5 separate regions of the Homo sapiens genome follow, and all the other regions are linked to region 3. Evidence: promoter capture Hi-C in human tissues and cell types (Jung and others, 2019). All regions are on one chromosome and are shown on one strand. Each heading gives the region's core, a stretch centred on a gene start or on the middle of the fragment in contact. The rest is flanking DNA. Distances are from core to core; before and after follow the strand shown.

Evidence for each region. The method cuts DNA at HindIII sites, captures the fragments that hold promoters and counts their contacts. A contact is called where the count stands out against the background at its distance.
Region 1: a contact is called between a fragment that was not itself captured here and the fragment with the promoter of MICU3 in region 3, in 1 of the 25 tissues and cell types used here (H1 embryonic stem cells).
Region 2: a fragment that was not itself captured here is called in contact with the fragment with the promoter of MICU3 in region 3 in 1 of the 25 tissues and cell types used here (mesenchymal stem cells).
Region 4: a contact is called between a fragment that was not itself captured here and the fragment with the promoter of MICU3 in region 3, in 1 of the 25 tissues and cell types used here (dorsolateral prefrontal cortex).
Region 5: a contact is called between a fragment that was not itself captured here and the fragment with the promoter of MICU3 in region 3, in 1 of the 25 tissues and cell types used here (dorsolateral prefrontal cortex).

Annotation. Positions count from the first base shown.
Region 1 is chr8:17,168,890-17,171,589 of GRCh38, reverse strand. The region is part of intron 1 of ZDHHC2 (zDHHC palmitoyltransferase 2); the gene reads right to left. Among named protein-coding and RNA genes, the nearest start is that of ZDHHC2, 14 kb to the right of the region's middle. The HindIII fragment of the contact is 5,308 bases long and covers 1-2,700 here.
Region 2 is chr8:16,800,425-16,803,170 of GRCh38, reverse strand. All of the region lies in intron 2 of LOC105379297 (a long non-coding RNA gene), which reads left to right. Among named protein-coding and RNA genes, the nearest start is that of FGF20, 200 kb to the left of the region's middle. The HindIII fragment of the contact is 3,022 bases long and covers 1-2,746 here.
Region 3 is chr8:17,025,921-17,028,742 of GRCh38, reverse strand. MICU3 (mitochondrial calcium uptake family member 3) reads right to left here and starts at 1,505. Exons shown (of 15, transcript NM_181723.3): 1 at 1,083-1,505. The coding sequence starts at 1,463. RefSeq lists an enhancer at 878-967 and a silencer at 1,118-1,527. The HindIII fragment of the contact is 10,669 bases long and covers 1-2,822 here.
Region 4 is chr8:16,818,064-16,820,763 of GRCh38, reverse strand. All of the region lies in intron 2 of LOC105379297 (a long non-coding RNA gene), which reads left to right. Among named protein-coding and RNA genes, the nearest start is that of FGF20, 180 kb to the left of the region's middle. The HindIII fragment of the contact is 3,324 bases long and covers 1-2,700 here.
Region 5 is chr8:16,783,529-16,786,228 of GRCh38, reverse strand. The region is part of intron 2 of LOC105379297 (a long non-coding RNA gene); the gene reads left to right. Among named protein-coding and RNA genes, the nearest start is that of FGF20, 220 kb to the left of the region's middle. The HindIII fragment of the contact is 3,801 bases long and covers 1-2,700 here.

The sequences.
Region 1 (2,700 bases), core at 39-2,538, 140 kb before region 3:
GGTAAACATTCACGGAATGTTTGTATTTAAATCATTAGGAATGTGTCGGTCTTTCAATCTATCAGTTCTGAAAAAGGAATAAAGACGTCACCTCATAATGATGGCCATGAAAAACTCACTGCCACTTTCATCTTGGCAAAGGGAAGGACCATTTCTGAATCACTGACTGCACTAAGCAATGTAGATAAATAAGGAAATCTGATCTCAGGGCTGGCCCCCTGATCTTAGTGTCCTCATTTCAAAGCTTACTCAATGGAATCCTATAATCCCTGTCTCAAATTAAAATAGAAGAGGCTCCTAGTGCCAGCAAGTTGTGCAGATTTGAGGGCAGCTGTAAGTTTACTTCTCCTGTTTAGATAGAGTTGTATGGGTGTTTCCTTTTCTACACATGGCTACAACTCAACTCCAAGTTCCTACAACCACTGAATTGTTTCAGCCCCACCCCCCTCCTTTCCAATTCCAGATTCCCTTCTTGAGGAAAGACCACAGAGGCCATGACTGACTCAGTAGAACCATGTAAGTCTATGGTGGATACTACACCCTCAACAACGATCTGCCTGCTTTCCACATAATGGCTATTTACCACCCAGGGGAATGTCAACTAGGGATTTATGTCCTGAAATACTCCCCTTATTAGTCAGAACCAAAATTTTAGAATTGGAAGTGCCTCAATGATTATTTTGCCCAATGTAACACTCAACTTTCTTATATATGTGTGGATGTATTTATTTATTGGTAGCATGCAAAACGTCCCACATGTATATTGGTTATTTCATCATTTAAAAAATATATACAATCAAGTTGAAACAATTTTTGTAGAGTATTTTTTAATGTCCTTACATCAGTTTCTTATTATCTGGTATACTCAGAATTATCATAAAGGACAATGCTGAGAGTTCCTTATTTTTCATGACCAAACGTTATTAGCTGTTTGATTTATTAAGGAGAAAAACCAATGCATCTTTTCTGCATCTCCAAGGAAACAGGCAACGTTCTAAAACCATCTAGCAGGGTTAGCAGCTATATGTTGAGTACTATATGACCAGAGTACAGGCACACGTAACACATTTAAAAATTAATCCAATTATTTCTAGGTTCATAAAATTATTTGACACTTATGAGTACTTTACAACTCTCCAGAGAAAGAAACTATATAAGGATGTAATTCCTACATTTGTGTTTATGAGCTCATTGGAATAAAATTTACAGTGGCACACCGGAAGAGATGAAATCAAATATTTAAACCAACACTAGCACCAGCAGTAATTGCTGCACGATAGCACTGGGTCACAATATCTATTAAAACATTCGAGAGTATCCAGCTATTCACTAGCTCACCCTTCAGTATTGGGTCACTGAGAAGCACTATTTTCTTCTGTAACTTCACTGTCATATATTCATAAAGTAAACATACACAATCTTTCTTGATCCCAGCTGGAATTATACAATGCCTTTCTCTTCTTACTTGCAGCAAATCATACTCTCGCCCAACACTGCATTCACCTACAGCACTAGCCCAATCTCTCTGACAGCAATTGCTGAAACAGTATGTGTATTCAGTCACAACCAAAATAAATCTGACATTGTCATTATCTGGCCACCCACAGTTGAAAGATTTCCATGACTACTGCCTAAAGACACAACATATTGTAATAGTGTAATATTATACAAGTACCACCTGTTTATATACTAGATGTATTCATTAATGTAAGTGAGAAGTTCTAAAAAAAAATTATGCAAGGAATTGAAGAATCCAGTCATCAATATTTGGAATGAGTCTCTTCCTCTGCTCCATGTGTAAACTGCATCTCAGGTTTCCCGCCTGTATCTCTCCCCTCATTTTATGTATGGATTTATGCTTTCTCTTACTAAAATCATTTCACTTACTCTGGATCTTTGGGCAAAACAGAAACCTTGCTCTTCATTTATAAATCATGTTCAGTCCCTGTGCTGCGGATCAGAATCGAGTTCATGATTGACACCATGCACTCACATGTATTCACGATGCATTCACGGCATACTTCCCCTCCTTCCCACCCACTCCTCTTTATCAGTTTGCGTACCATTTCCATCTGCTAATATGTTCTTTCAAGATTTAATTTCCATCTGTCATTTCTGTGCTCTGGACTCTGGCTACTCAAAAACTGTTGTTGAATTCCTGCCTATATGCAGTAAGCTAGAGGCCCTCGAGTTTTCTGCCCTGGGCATGCCCGATGACCAGCACTCTCATAAGGAACACACTACCCAGTAATGAAGGCCACCATATGGGCAACATGGGATTCTTCACAATCCCCTGCCCATCAGCTTTTCTGCTGAACCATGAAATGGCAAGATGGTAAAAAAAAAAAAAAAAAAAATTGCTGCAGTGACACTGATACATCTCATGGATACCTCTAGAGACCTTCAAATTTGGACATGTTTACAAGGGCATATACAGGCTTCTCTGGGTGACACCTGCATCAAAAATCACCTGCTCCAGAAAAACCGTATGGTGTCCTCAAAAAATTAAACACAGAATTACCATATGACTGACCAATTCCACTCTTAGGTATCTACCAAAAGAATTTAAAGCAGGGACTCAAACAGGTATTTCTGTATACTGTTCACAGCAGCATTATTCAGAATAGCCAAAAAGGTAGAAACAACTCAAACCCCCATTAATGGATAAACAATATCTGATATATACATGCCACGAAATAT
Region 2 (2,746 bases), core at 7-2,506, 230 kb after region 3:
GAAATTGTGCTTTCAGATTGCAACATCAATTCTTTCCTGGGTGTCCAGAGTGCTGGCCTGCCTTGCAGACTTTGGACTTGCTAGCCCCTACAATTGTGTGAACCAATTCCTTAAAATCTTTCTCTACTTTCATGTCTCATTCATTTTTTTTTTTTTTTTTTGGTTATTTGGAGAACTCTGACTAATATACCCTCTATGTCCTTAACCAAGGAGGCTGCAGGATTGGAAATTATCAAGAATCTACTCTCTGTCTTTGCCATGCAAAAGACTTAAAGACTAGAAATCTCTTAGTATTTCAGCTGGGATATGATATAAGCAATAATCAAATGTAAATTACATCATGTATTTGGGTGCTAAAATTTTTAATCTTTGTTTAGATGATACAGTCCTACTGAATTTTTCTTGATTTGGCTTTTTAGAAAAATACCAAGCATACAAGTGAAATATAATTGAATACAAAAGAAGAAATGAAGAAATGTGCTTTTTTTCTTTCAAATGCTGAAATTTTTTATTAGCTGGTCAAGGTCAGTTAGCAAGAGGGACAAAATTAATGGTCACTACAGCCACTAACAAAACAGGGACAGTGAAACTAGTTTCACTCTTTTTCCCAATATCTATAAATGAATATCTTAGCAGTAGTTGTGTCTTTATGTTAGTTTTATAAGTAGATACTATTTCAAGGAAAAATTGAATCCTGGTGAAGTAAAATGGAAAAGTAATGAAAATGTGTTTCCATCTCAAGCTTCCTGTTCATTTCAAGAAAATTATTTTCTCGTTGTACCTTAGTTGTAGCTACCGCAGTGGCATAATTATTTCTTAGTGGAAAGAAGGGATCAGCAATGGGACAGCATTTTGTGCAGTTTCACACTAAGGAACATGATCATCAATTTTTTTTTCTTTTCTCTAGCTTATACTAACAGGAATGCAAGGATTACACAAAATAATTGCATACTTGATCACTTCCTGACAATATAAGATGTCACTGAACACAATGGCAGGGCCTATTTCCAAATGACTGCGGACTTTTTGGTTTGGCCTATGAAGATAAATCACATAAGCTTCTTAAAGCTGGAATCATAATCTTTCAAGATTAAAATGATGAAAGCTTTAAAGCTGGCCTGATGCCAAATTTCAATTTCCTGTTGTGCCTTTGGGGCATAATGTGGCGAATATTGGAAAACTGTTCTTTTCAATGGTTTTTCAGATACTTTTGTGCAATTCTTTCTAACTTAGCTACTGTCATATTTTAAAAGCTGGCCAGTTTTTGGTAGTTACTATGTACTAAGAAACCTGACACTTTAGTATTGTTTTCTGATTTATTAGTAATGAGACCGTGTAGAGTTGAGTCTAAGAGCACAGATTTTGGACAGAGAGAAGAATACGTTTTTCTTTTATTAGTTTAGTGATTAATTCAGTGATAACTTGGGGCAAGTTAATTAGCATCTAGCTAAAAATTATAAATAAAGGTGCTATAAGAATCATCTCGAATGAGATGGTGCATGTACTTACTGTGTTGGTTGTCTATATTTTAAATAAAATCTCTAGGTAATTCTCATGCAAACTAAAAGCTGAGAACCACACTGATGAGAGGAGCTAGATATGCATTGTTTAGAGAATACTGAAAGTTTCCCTGAGTTCGTTCAATACCTGGCAGACACATTCATACATTTGATTCTCTCTCCATTCCTTGTAGGAGATGATTTCTGGATACCCATTAGCCTCAAAATCTTCCCCTGAATATACTATATTTCTTTATTTTTTGTTTAATATATGCATCACCTCACATACTCTACTTTTCAATGCCCTAATGAGGCACAGGGTAAAATGTCCTATAAAATAAATGGGTACATACAAGGAGTTTTCTCTAACAATAGGCCCTAACCATGTCATTTTCTTCTTATTGGTAGGTTTAACAAGAATTATGCTCTTCTATGCATAATTGAACCTGAATTAACAAGTTTATTTATTCATTTACTTTGAGACAGAGTCTCACTTTGTCTCCCAAGCTAGGGTGCAGTGGTGCAATCACAGATCACTGCAGCCTTGACTTCCTGGGTTTAAGTGATCCTCCTGCCCCAGTCCCCCAAGTAACAGGGACCACAGGTGCACACCCGATGCCCAGCGAATTAAAAAATTTTCCTGTAGAGATGAAGTCTCACTATGTTGCCCAGGCTGGTTTTGAACTTTTAAGCTCAACCAATCCTCCCCTGTGAGCCTCCCAAAGTGCTGGGATTACAGGTGTGAGCCACCACACCCGGCCCTAAATTAATACTTTTAGAGCCACTTGAATTTGGCCTGCTTGCATCAAAGGGCAGCTCAACACCTGAAGTGCTTTTATCTTCTCACATCTGTTGCTTGTGACCTCTTTTGCAATCAGTTTATAAAGTAATTCTCTATGAATTTTAACTCTTTCCTTCTTGTATCTATCAAGGATATTGAACTTAAAGAGTAAGGGACAATTACTTAGAATCTGAGTGTGAAAGATTCATAGCTAATTTCTGTTTGAAAAAGAAATGTTCTTTCTTCCTTAAAGAAAATAAACTTTATTTTGACAGGTAATTTTCTGGGTAGCCACTAATATATGTATATATTTTATTTACTTATCCATTTATTATAATTATTTTCATTTATTCACTGGTTTCATGTCATTTTTCTTTGCTATTACACATACTTCATCTATTTAGTGTAATTATTTTCTTCTTCAGATAAGATTAGCCCAACAATATAATTTGGATTTCATAGAAGC
Region 3 (2,822 bases), core at 256-2,755:
TAAAAGGACTTTATGTTATGTGCTTGTGATCTGCTGCTAGATAGTCCATAAAGCAGATTCCGTAACCTAATTGCATTGACAACCTCCACCAAAGGAAATGATGCACTTACATCAGATCACCACTGCGTATTAAGAACAAAGCCTATAAAAATTGCATTAGAAACAGCATAGCTCTCTGTTTTCTAAATTATTTTCATCTACGCCGTTCACATTCTTCGAGCCTTGCAAGGAAAATCTCCTTAATTTTCCTAGTCATTTACATGACTATTAAATATACTGATGCGACAAAAAAAATCACGCTCCTTTACTCACTGTTGCCTTTCACACATCTTTACCTTGTATTATTAACTACATAATGACAGTTGAACATTTTCACGTGACTTTCTTCTGTAGGAGTTTGTGTCATTCACAGCCTCCTACATTTGCTATCCTATCCATTTTGTGTTTTATCGTTACCTACTAACGGGATTCTGGCTTTAGTGGGGGAAGGAAAAAGAGAGAAATACTTATGTCTCTTTTTGAACAATTTTTTATTTCTTTTCAGACCTGGTAACATCAACATTCCCTGGGTATGATAAGGGCGTTAGCATGCAGGTTTAGCATTTCCTTTCTTGGGACTAATAAATTCTCATATGCTAAAGTAGTGGCTTTTGAGATCTCAGACCGCTGCTTCGAAACTCATTCTAATGCAACAGACCTCCTGGGTCATTAGCTGTCGCCCCGCGCAATCTAGGAGTTCCTTTTTCCCACACCTACAGCGGTCCACTTTCTGCCTGTCATGGCCTTCATTTCTGAATCTTTTTTTGTAAGAGGGGGAGGGGTGTTGGTTTTGGGTTTGGATTGATACTTGGTAGCTGCAGCCACCTTTAAGGTCCTGATGCATCAGGGACAGCATCACTGGTCTTCCCAATACGTGGGTGACCGGATCCTAGGCTGTCCGGCCTAGGTGTCAGCCTCGCTCACGGGAAGTTCCTCACCCGCGGCCACAGCGCTTGCACCGTCCCCACAGCCTCCAGGGTCCTGCGTACCCGGCACGAAGGTCACATCCCCCGCGCAGGTGTGACGCGCGCTCGCGCACTCACCGTCTCCTTGGCAGCCGCCACTGGGATGGGCAGCATCCCCCGGCCGCGGGGCGGGTCCTCGGGCTCCGTGGCCGCGCTCTTTGAGGGTCGCCCGGTCGCCGGCGAGCCGGCCCTGGGGTCCCCGTACAGCTGGTAGCATACCAGGCCGACCAGCCCCCCGCCGGCCGCCGCCGCCACGCTCAGCTCCCCCCAGCGCCGCCGCCGCCTCCATGCCGCCTCCGCCACAGCCCTCTCCTCATCCTCTCGGGAGGAGAAGGGCCGGCCAGGAAGGCCCAGGGTGGTCACCGCAGGCCGCCCCCACGGCCCAAGGAGGGGCTGGTGAGCGCAGAGTGGAGGAGACACCCGGGGTGGCGGCCACAAGAGCCTTCGCAGCGCAGCCATAGCGGAGGCCGCCCACACCAGAGCTGGGAGGGGGCAGAGAACGGAGGGGCGGGGGCGGGGGGGGGGGTCGCCGAAATCTCGCGAGAAGTCGGTGCCGCGAGCTTCGCGGCCGGCCGAGAGCGACCCCTACACTCGCGCGGCCCCGGGGACCCGCGACGCCACCTTCAGCGTAGCGGTCCCGTGGTTCGGCCCGGGAAGATCATGGAAGAGGCGGCGGATCCCGGCTGCTCCCCGGCCCCGAACCCCCAGCCCAACCACGCAGTCATAAATAACCGCGCCAGCCCGGCGACACCTGGCTACGCGACAGCGCGACACTGCGGGCACAGCCGAGTCAGCGTAACTGAGGCGCGGCCGAGTGCGGGGCTCTCTGGGGCCCGCGCCGCTGCTACGGGCGGGGTGGGTCTCCGAGCTGGGCTCAGCGCCCGTCTGGGACACTCACATTCCCTAACGGTCTCCTGACCTCAGGAAACTCAAGGTCTTGACTCAAGGTCGTGAACGATTTGCAATTGTATCTTCACATATACGACACAAATGAGGTATAAGCATTTGGCTCAAGTCATAACGATTGCAAATTAAGGCAAACACTTTGACGACTGAAGGGCAGCTTCCGGACTTTTGATGGGAGAAGGCTAATGCTGTTTTTTAGAAGCATTAGCACACCCGCGGTCACTTAATTCAACAAATCAGAACTGTCTTGTGCATATAAAAGTTAAAAATTTTAAAACTTCTGTGAATAAAGATAAAATCTTGAACGATACCCTGATTTTTCAGGGAAGCGCTGTTTGTATAAATATAAAATAAATGAGAAGCGTATTGTGTCATCTTTTTGTTTTTACTGTACTTTTTGTTTGCTATGTTATCAGTATCAGTTTTTATGAGAAAGTGTAGATGAAGTTCCTATCAGTTTCTCTCCCCAGACCCCAGTTTTGGTAACTTGAATTATGTTAGCTTTTTCTTCCTACTATGGAATGGTGCCAGGAGTCCCTAAAATATTGTGGATCTAAGGGGACAGACAACTAAATACAGTGGTCTCAATTGGGCTGCAGTGACAAGAGAATACACCATCAGTTGATTCTGGCAATTCTTGTAAAGACTAAAGGCTTTCAGAGACGACCAAATGAGTTTTTTCTGGCTCAGGTCCTACAATTTCTTCCCTTTTTTTTTTCTTTTTTTGAGACGGAGTCTTGCTCTGTTGCCCAGGCTAGAGTGCAGTGGCACATTCTCGGCTCACTGCAACGTCCGTCTCCCTGGTTCAAGCGATTCTCCTGCCTCAGCCTCCCGAGTAGCTGGGATTACAGGCACCCGCCACCGTGCCTGGCTAATTTTTGTGTTTTTAGTAGAGATGGGGGTCTCACCATC
Region 4 (2,700 bases), core at 76-2,575, 210 kb after region 3:
TAAATAGGAGAGTTGATAGTGGCCATCCTTAGTCTTGTTCTTCTTGTGTCTCTTGGTTAGGAAAGATGCTAGTGTTTGGGCTTTCTAACCTACAATCATGTACCAGGTAACATCTTTGCCACAAACAGTACAATGAAATTAAGTAACTAACAAGAGTTTAATGAAGAGAAAACATTTATAACAATGTAGGCAGGATTAAGGAACCAAAAAGGGTTTCCAGCACACATATTAAGGAAGTGCCTACTGAATGACTTTTATTACATATTTTAAAAATTAAGAATAGAGTTGAATTGATTAAATAACTTTTCAATATCCATGGAGATGATTATAGGTTTTTCTTTTTAGATCATGAACAGAATAACTTTATTAAGATAACTTACTGAATCTCTTAATATTGAGCCATCTTTCACAACTAAATTTAATGATTATGTCCAAAGTTTTTAAACTTCATACAAATGGAAAAATAAAATAGGTAAACAAATACACGTGACTTCTTTTGCTCAATGTTGTGAGATTTCATCCATTTTTATGTAACCATATATATGTATACCATGTAATATACTCTTTCATATTTTATTTTGCAAATATTCTATTTTATTCTACTGTTGGTGAATATTTGGGTTATTCTAGTTGTAGCTACTTAAAAATACTGCTGCTGTGAATATTCTTAGACATGTCTTTTGATGTACATAATGTACACATATCTATTTACCTAGGAATAGAATTGCTGGGTTTTTAGGTGTACTTATTTAATTTATTTTTTGGGAATTCCTAATGTATTCTGGATATGACTCCTTTGTCAGAAATATGTTTTAATTTTATTTTTCCAAATTATCGTTTATCTCTTCAAATACTTAATGATGTCTATTGACAAACAAAAATCTTTAGTTTTTATGTGGGTTAGTTAATCATTGTTTTCCAATATGATCAGTACTTCTTCCCCTGTTTATATATTTTTTAATCCAAAGTTCCTGAATAATTTTCTTGTGTTATTTTCTAGAACTGCACTGTTCAATACTGTACCCAGTAGCCTAGTGTAGCTATTTAAGCTTAAATATAAATTACAATAAATTGAAAATTCATTTCCTCATTTGTGCTAGTCATGTTTTCAGTACTCAGTAGTTACAAGTGGCTTGGTGGCAACCCTACTGGGCATTGCAAATAGGGAACATTTCTATTGGACAGCACTGTTGTAGAAGCTTTTGTCATTTACTGTTCACGTTTAGATCTACAATCCATCTGGAATTTTTGTGGTAGAACTGCAGCAATTAGCTTTTACTGTGGAACAAACCACCCCAAAACATAGTAGCTTAAAACAGCTATTTCATTTAGCTCACAATTCTGCGAGTGGCTGGGATGGCTGGGTTGGCTGGCATCTCTCCCACATGGTCTCTCATGCTATGTCAATAGGCTGGTCCAGGATCATCAGATGATGGTCTCAGGGTTTCCAGCAACAAGAGGGCAAGTCCTAATGCATGAGCGCTTTTCACAGCCCTGCGTATGTCACATTTCATATTGTCCCTTTGGCTAAAGAAGTCACGTATCCCTGCCTAGATTTAAGAGGATAAATAGACTTCACTTCTGATATGAGAAAAGGCGAAATTATGCCACAAAAGGGTATGCATAGAGGAATGGGAGGGATTTGTGGCCATTTTTGCAACATATTTTAGTGACCTATGGGTAAATATTATTTTTTTCTATATGCCTATACAATTGACCTGCCATATTTATTGAAAAGACCATTTATTCCCCCACTCAATTGCAAAGTTAACTTAACAAATAGCTTGTCTGGGACTGCTTCTGAAGACTTCATTCTGTTCCACTGGGTTATTTATCTACCTTTGAGTCGATAATAACTATTTTAATAATTAATGCTTCATAATTTATTTTGATACCTGACAGTGTAAGTCCTTTAGCCTTGTTGATTTTTCAAGAGGGTCTTAGCTATTCTTGGCCACTTGTATTTCCATGTAAATTTTAGAGTCCACCTGCCAATTTCCACAAAAAAAATCTGTTGAAATTTTTATTGGGATTTTATTGGATCTGTAGATCCATTTGGGATAATTTGCCTCTCTGAGTTTTCCCATCTATGAACAAGGTACATATCTCTGTTTATTTGGGATTCGTTTTATTTCTGTTAATGTTTTTTATTTTACTCAATAGAATTCTTATGTCTGTTCCATTATCTTTATTCTTAAGCAAATGAAGTTTTTTTTCTTTCATTCTTTTCTGTTTATGTTCGGAATGTTGTTACATTTTTTCATTAACTTTTTGAAAATGTTTTCTCCAGTGAGTTTTTATTATCTGCAGGAAAGTTACACCATTCTTTTTCATCACTTTCTTACTGAGTTTGACAAAACTCTCTCAATAAATAAAATATCAGATAAAAAATCGGTAAGGATACAGGAGATGTGAGTAATACAGAAAAAAATTGAACTAATGGATACTTACCCAAAATCTTCGTATGGAGGCAGAATATGTTCCTCTTATTCTATCTATATTTGAATAAGGTGAATTTTCCCACCTGGCAGCAGGTGGTTCTGGCAGTGTGGATATTTTGGGGGTGAAATGAAAGTGCGTCAGAGTGAATATCCTGGTGCTCCCTTCTCTATTTCAGCAAAGGTCTTAATAAATGGCCCCTCTCTGTTCTCACTTTTTCTCTGGCTTTCAGACCTTACATGAATACAGAAGAGTTTCTAT
Region 5 (2,700 bases), core at 40-2,539, 240 kb after region 3:
CTTTGCCCCTTCTGGCTTCTGGTGGCTGCCAGTATTCCTTGCCTTGTGGCCACATCCCTCCCATTTCTGCCTCTGTGACCACATTGCCTTCTCCTGTACGGTGTCTTCTCCTCTTCTGTGTCTCAAATCTCCCCCTACCTTTCTCTTATAAGGACAGTTGTGATTGGCTTTAGGGGCCCACTCGGATAGTCCAGAATGATCTCTTCATCTCAGGATACCTACGTGCTTTCCATAGTTTGCTGTCCCATGTATGTTAAAGAAAAATGAAATGGTCTTGGCTGGGCACGGTGGCTCACACCTGTAATCCCAGCACTTTGTGGAGCCAAGGTGGGTAGCTCACAAGGTCAGGAGTTCAAGGCCAACCTGGCCAATATGGTGAAACCCTGTCTCTAATAAAAATACAAAAATTAGATGGGCATGGTGGTAGGCACCTGTAGTCCCAGCTACTGGGGAGGCTGAGGCAGGAGAATCATTTGAATCCAGGAGGCAGAGGTTGCAGTGAGCCGAGATTGTGCCACTGCACTCCAGCCTCAGCGACAGAGTGAGATTTTGTCTCAAAAAAAAAAAAAAGAAAGATGAAATGATCTCATTTCAAGAAAATGAAGACCTTAAAACGAAACGTACACAGATGAAATAATAAAAATGAGTAAGTGACTGTTAAACTCAAGGGTCAAGAGATCTTGTATATTTGGGATTCATCATGTTAAACAAAATGAAACAGATTTTTAAATTACAAATATATCAAAGTCCTTAATATATTTCAGTGCATTTTGAGTTTCCAAGGCAAATATAGTGTTTCCGAAAATTAAATGAAGAAGAGAATTCCTTTTTGCTGGACTTCAGGGACGAGTGGGCTTCAAAAAACAGTTTAGGAAAACAGTGCATTTCCTGCTTGACAAAGAGAAATTTAGCTCAACTATAGTGAATGGCCCGAGAGAAGAGTTACACAGGTTGCTATTGTGTCCTGAATTGGTGGGTTCTTGGTCTCACTGACTTCAAGAATGAAGCCGCGGACCCTGGCGGTGAGTGTTACAGCCCTTAAGGTGGCGCGTCTGGAGTCTGTCCCTTCTGAGGTTCAGATGTGTTTGGAGTTTTTTCCTTCTGGTGGGTTCGTGGTCTCGCTGGCTCAGTAGTGAAGCTGCAGACCTTCGCGGTGAGTGTTACAGCTCTTAAGGCAGCGCGTCTGGAGTTGTTTGTTCTTCCTGCTGGGCTCCTGATCTCGCTGGCCTCAGGAGTGAAGCTGCAGATCTTCGCGGTGAGTGTTACAGCTCATAAAAGCAGCGTGGACCCAAAGAGTGAGCAGTAGCAAGATTTATTGTAAAGAGTGAACGAACAAAGCTTCCACAGTGTGGAAGACCACCTGAACCAGTTGCCGATGCTAGCTCCGGCAGCCTGCTTTTATTCTCTTATCTGGCCCCACCCACATCCTGCTGATTGGTAGAGCCGAGTGGCCTGTTTTGTCAGGGTGCTGATTGGTGCGTTTATAATCCCTGAGCTAGATACAAAGGTTCTCCACTTCCCCATCAGATTAGTTAGATACAGAGTTTTGACACACAGGTTTTCCAAGGCCCCACCAGAGCAGCTAGATACAGATTGTCGATTGGTGCATTTACAAACCTTGAGCTAAACACAGGGTGCTGACTGGTGTGTTTACAAACCTTGAGCTAGATACAGAGTGCCGATTGGTGTATTTACAATCGTTGAGCTAGACATAAAGGTTCTCCACGTCCTCACCAGAGCAGCTAGATACAGAGTCGATTGGTGCACTCACAAACCTTGAGCTAAACACAGGTGCTGATTGGTGTGTTTACAATCCCTGAGCTAGATATAAAGACTCTCTACGTCCCCACCAGACTCAGGAGCCCAGCTGGCTTCACCTAGTGGATCCCACACCGGGGCTGCAGGTGGAGCTGCCTGCCAGTCCTGCACCCTGCGCTGGCATTCCTCAGCCCTTGGTTGGTCGATGGGACTGGGCGCCGTGGAGCAGGGGGTGGTGCTCGTCGGGGAGGCTCGGGCCGCACAGGAGCCCATGGAGTGGGTGGGAGGCTCAGGCATGGCGGGCTGCAGGTCCCGAGCCCTGCCCCGCGGGAAGGCAGCTAAGGCCCGGCGAGAAATCGAGCGCAGCGCCGGTGGGCTGGCACTGCTGGGGGACACAGTACACCCTCCGCAGCTACTGGCCCGGGTGCTAAGTCCCCCATTGCCTGGGGCCAGCAGGGCTGGCTGGCTGCTCCGAGTGCGGGGCCCACCAAGCCCACGCCCACCCGGAACTCCAGCTGGCCCGCAAGCGCCGCACGCAGCCCCGGTTCCCGCTCGTGCCTCCCTCCACACCTCCCTGCAAGCTGAGGGAGTGGGCTCCGGCTTTGGCCAGCCCAGAAAGGGGCTCCCACAGTGCAGTGGGGGGCTGAAGGGCTCCTCAAATGCTGCCAAAGTGGGAGCCCAGGCAGAGGAGGTGCCAAGAGCAAGTGAGGGCTCTGAGGACTGCCAGCACGCTGTCACCTCTCACTATCATGTATTGAGTACTTACTATGAGTTAGGTACGTATTAGGTACTTTAGATGCATTAACATTTAATCTTTACAACACCCTTTTGAGGTAGGTTCTATTATAATTATTTTATATCGGGAAACTGAGGCAAAGAGATTTACACAACTTTTCCAGATTTACACAGCTAGTAAGTGGTTGAGTTTGGATCGTAATCAAG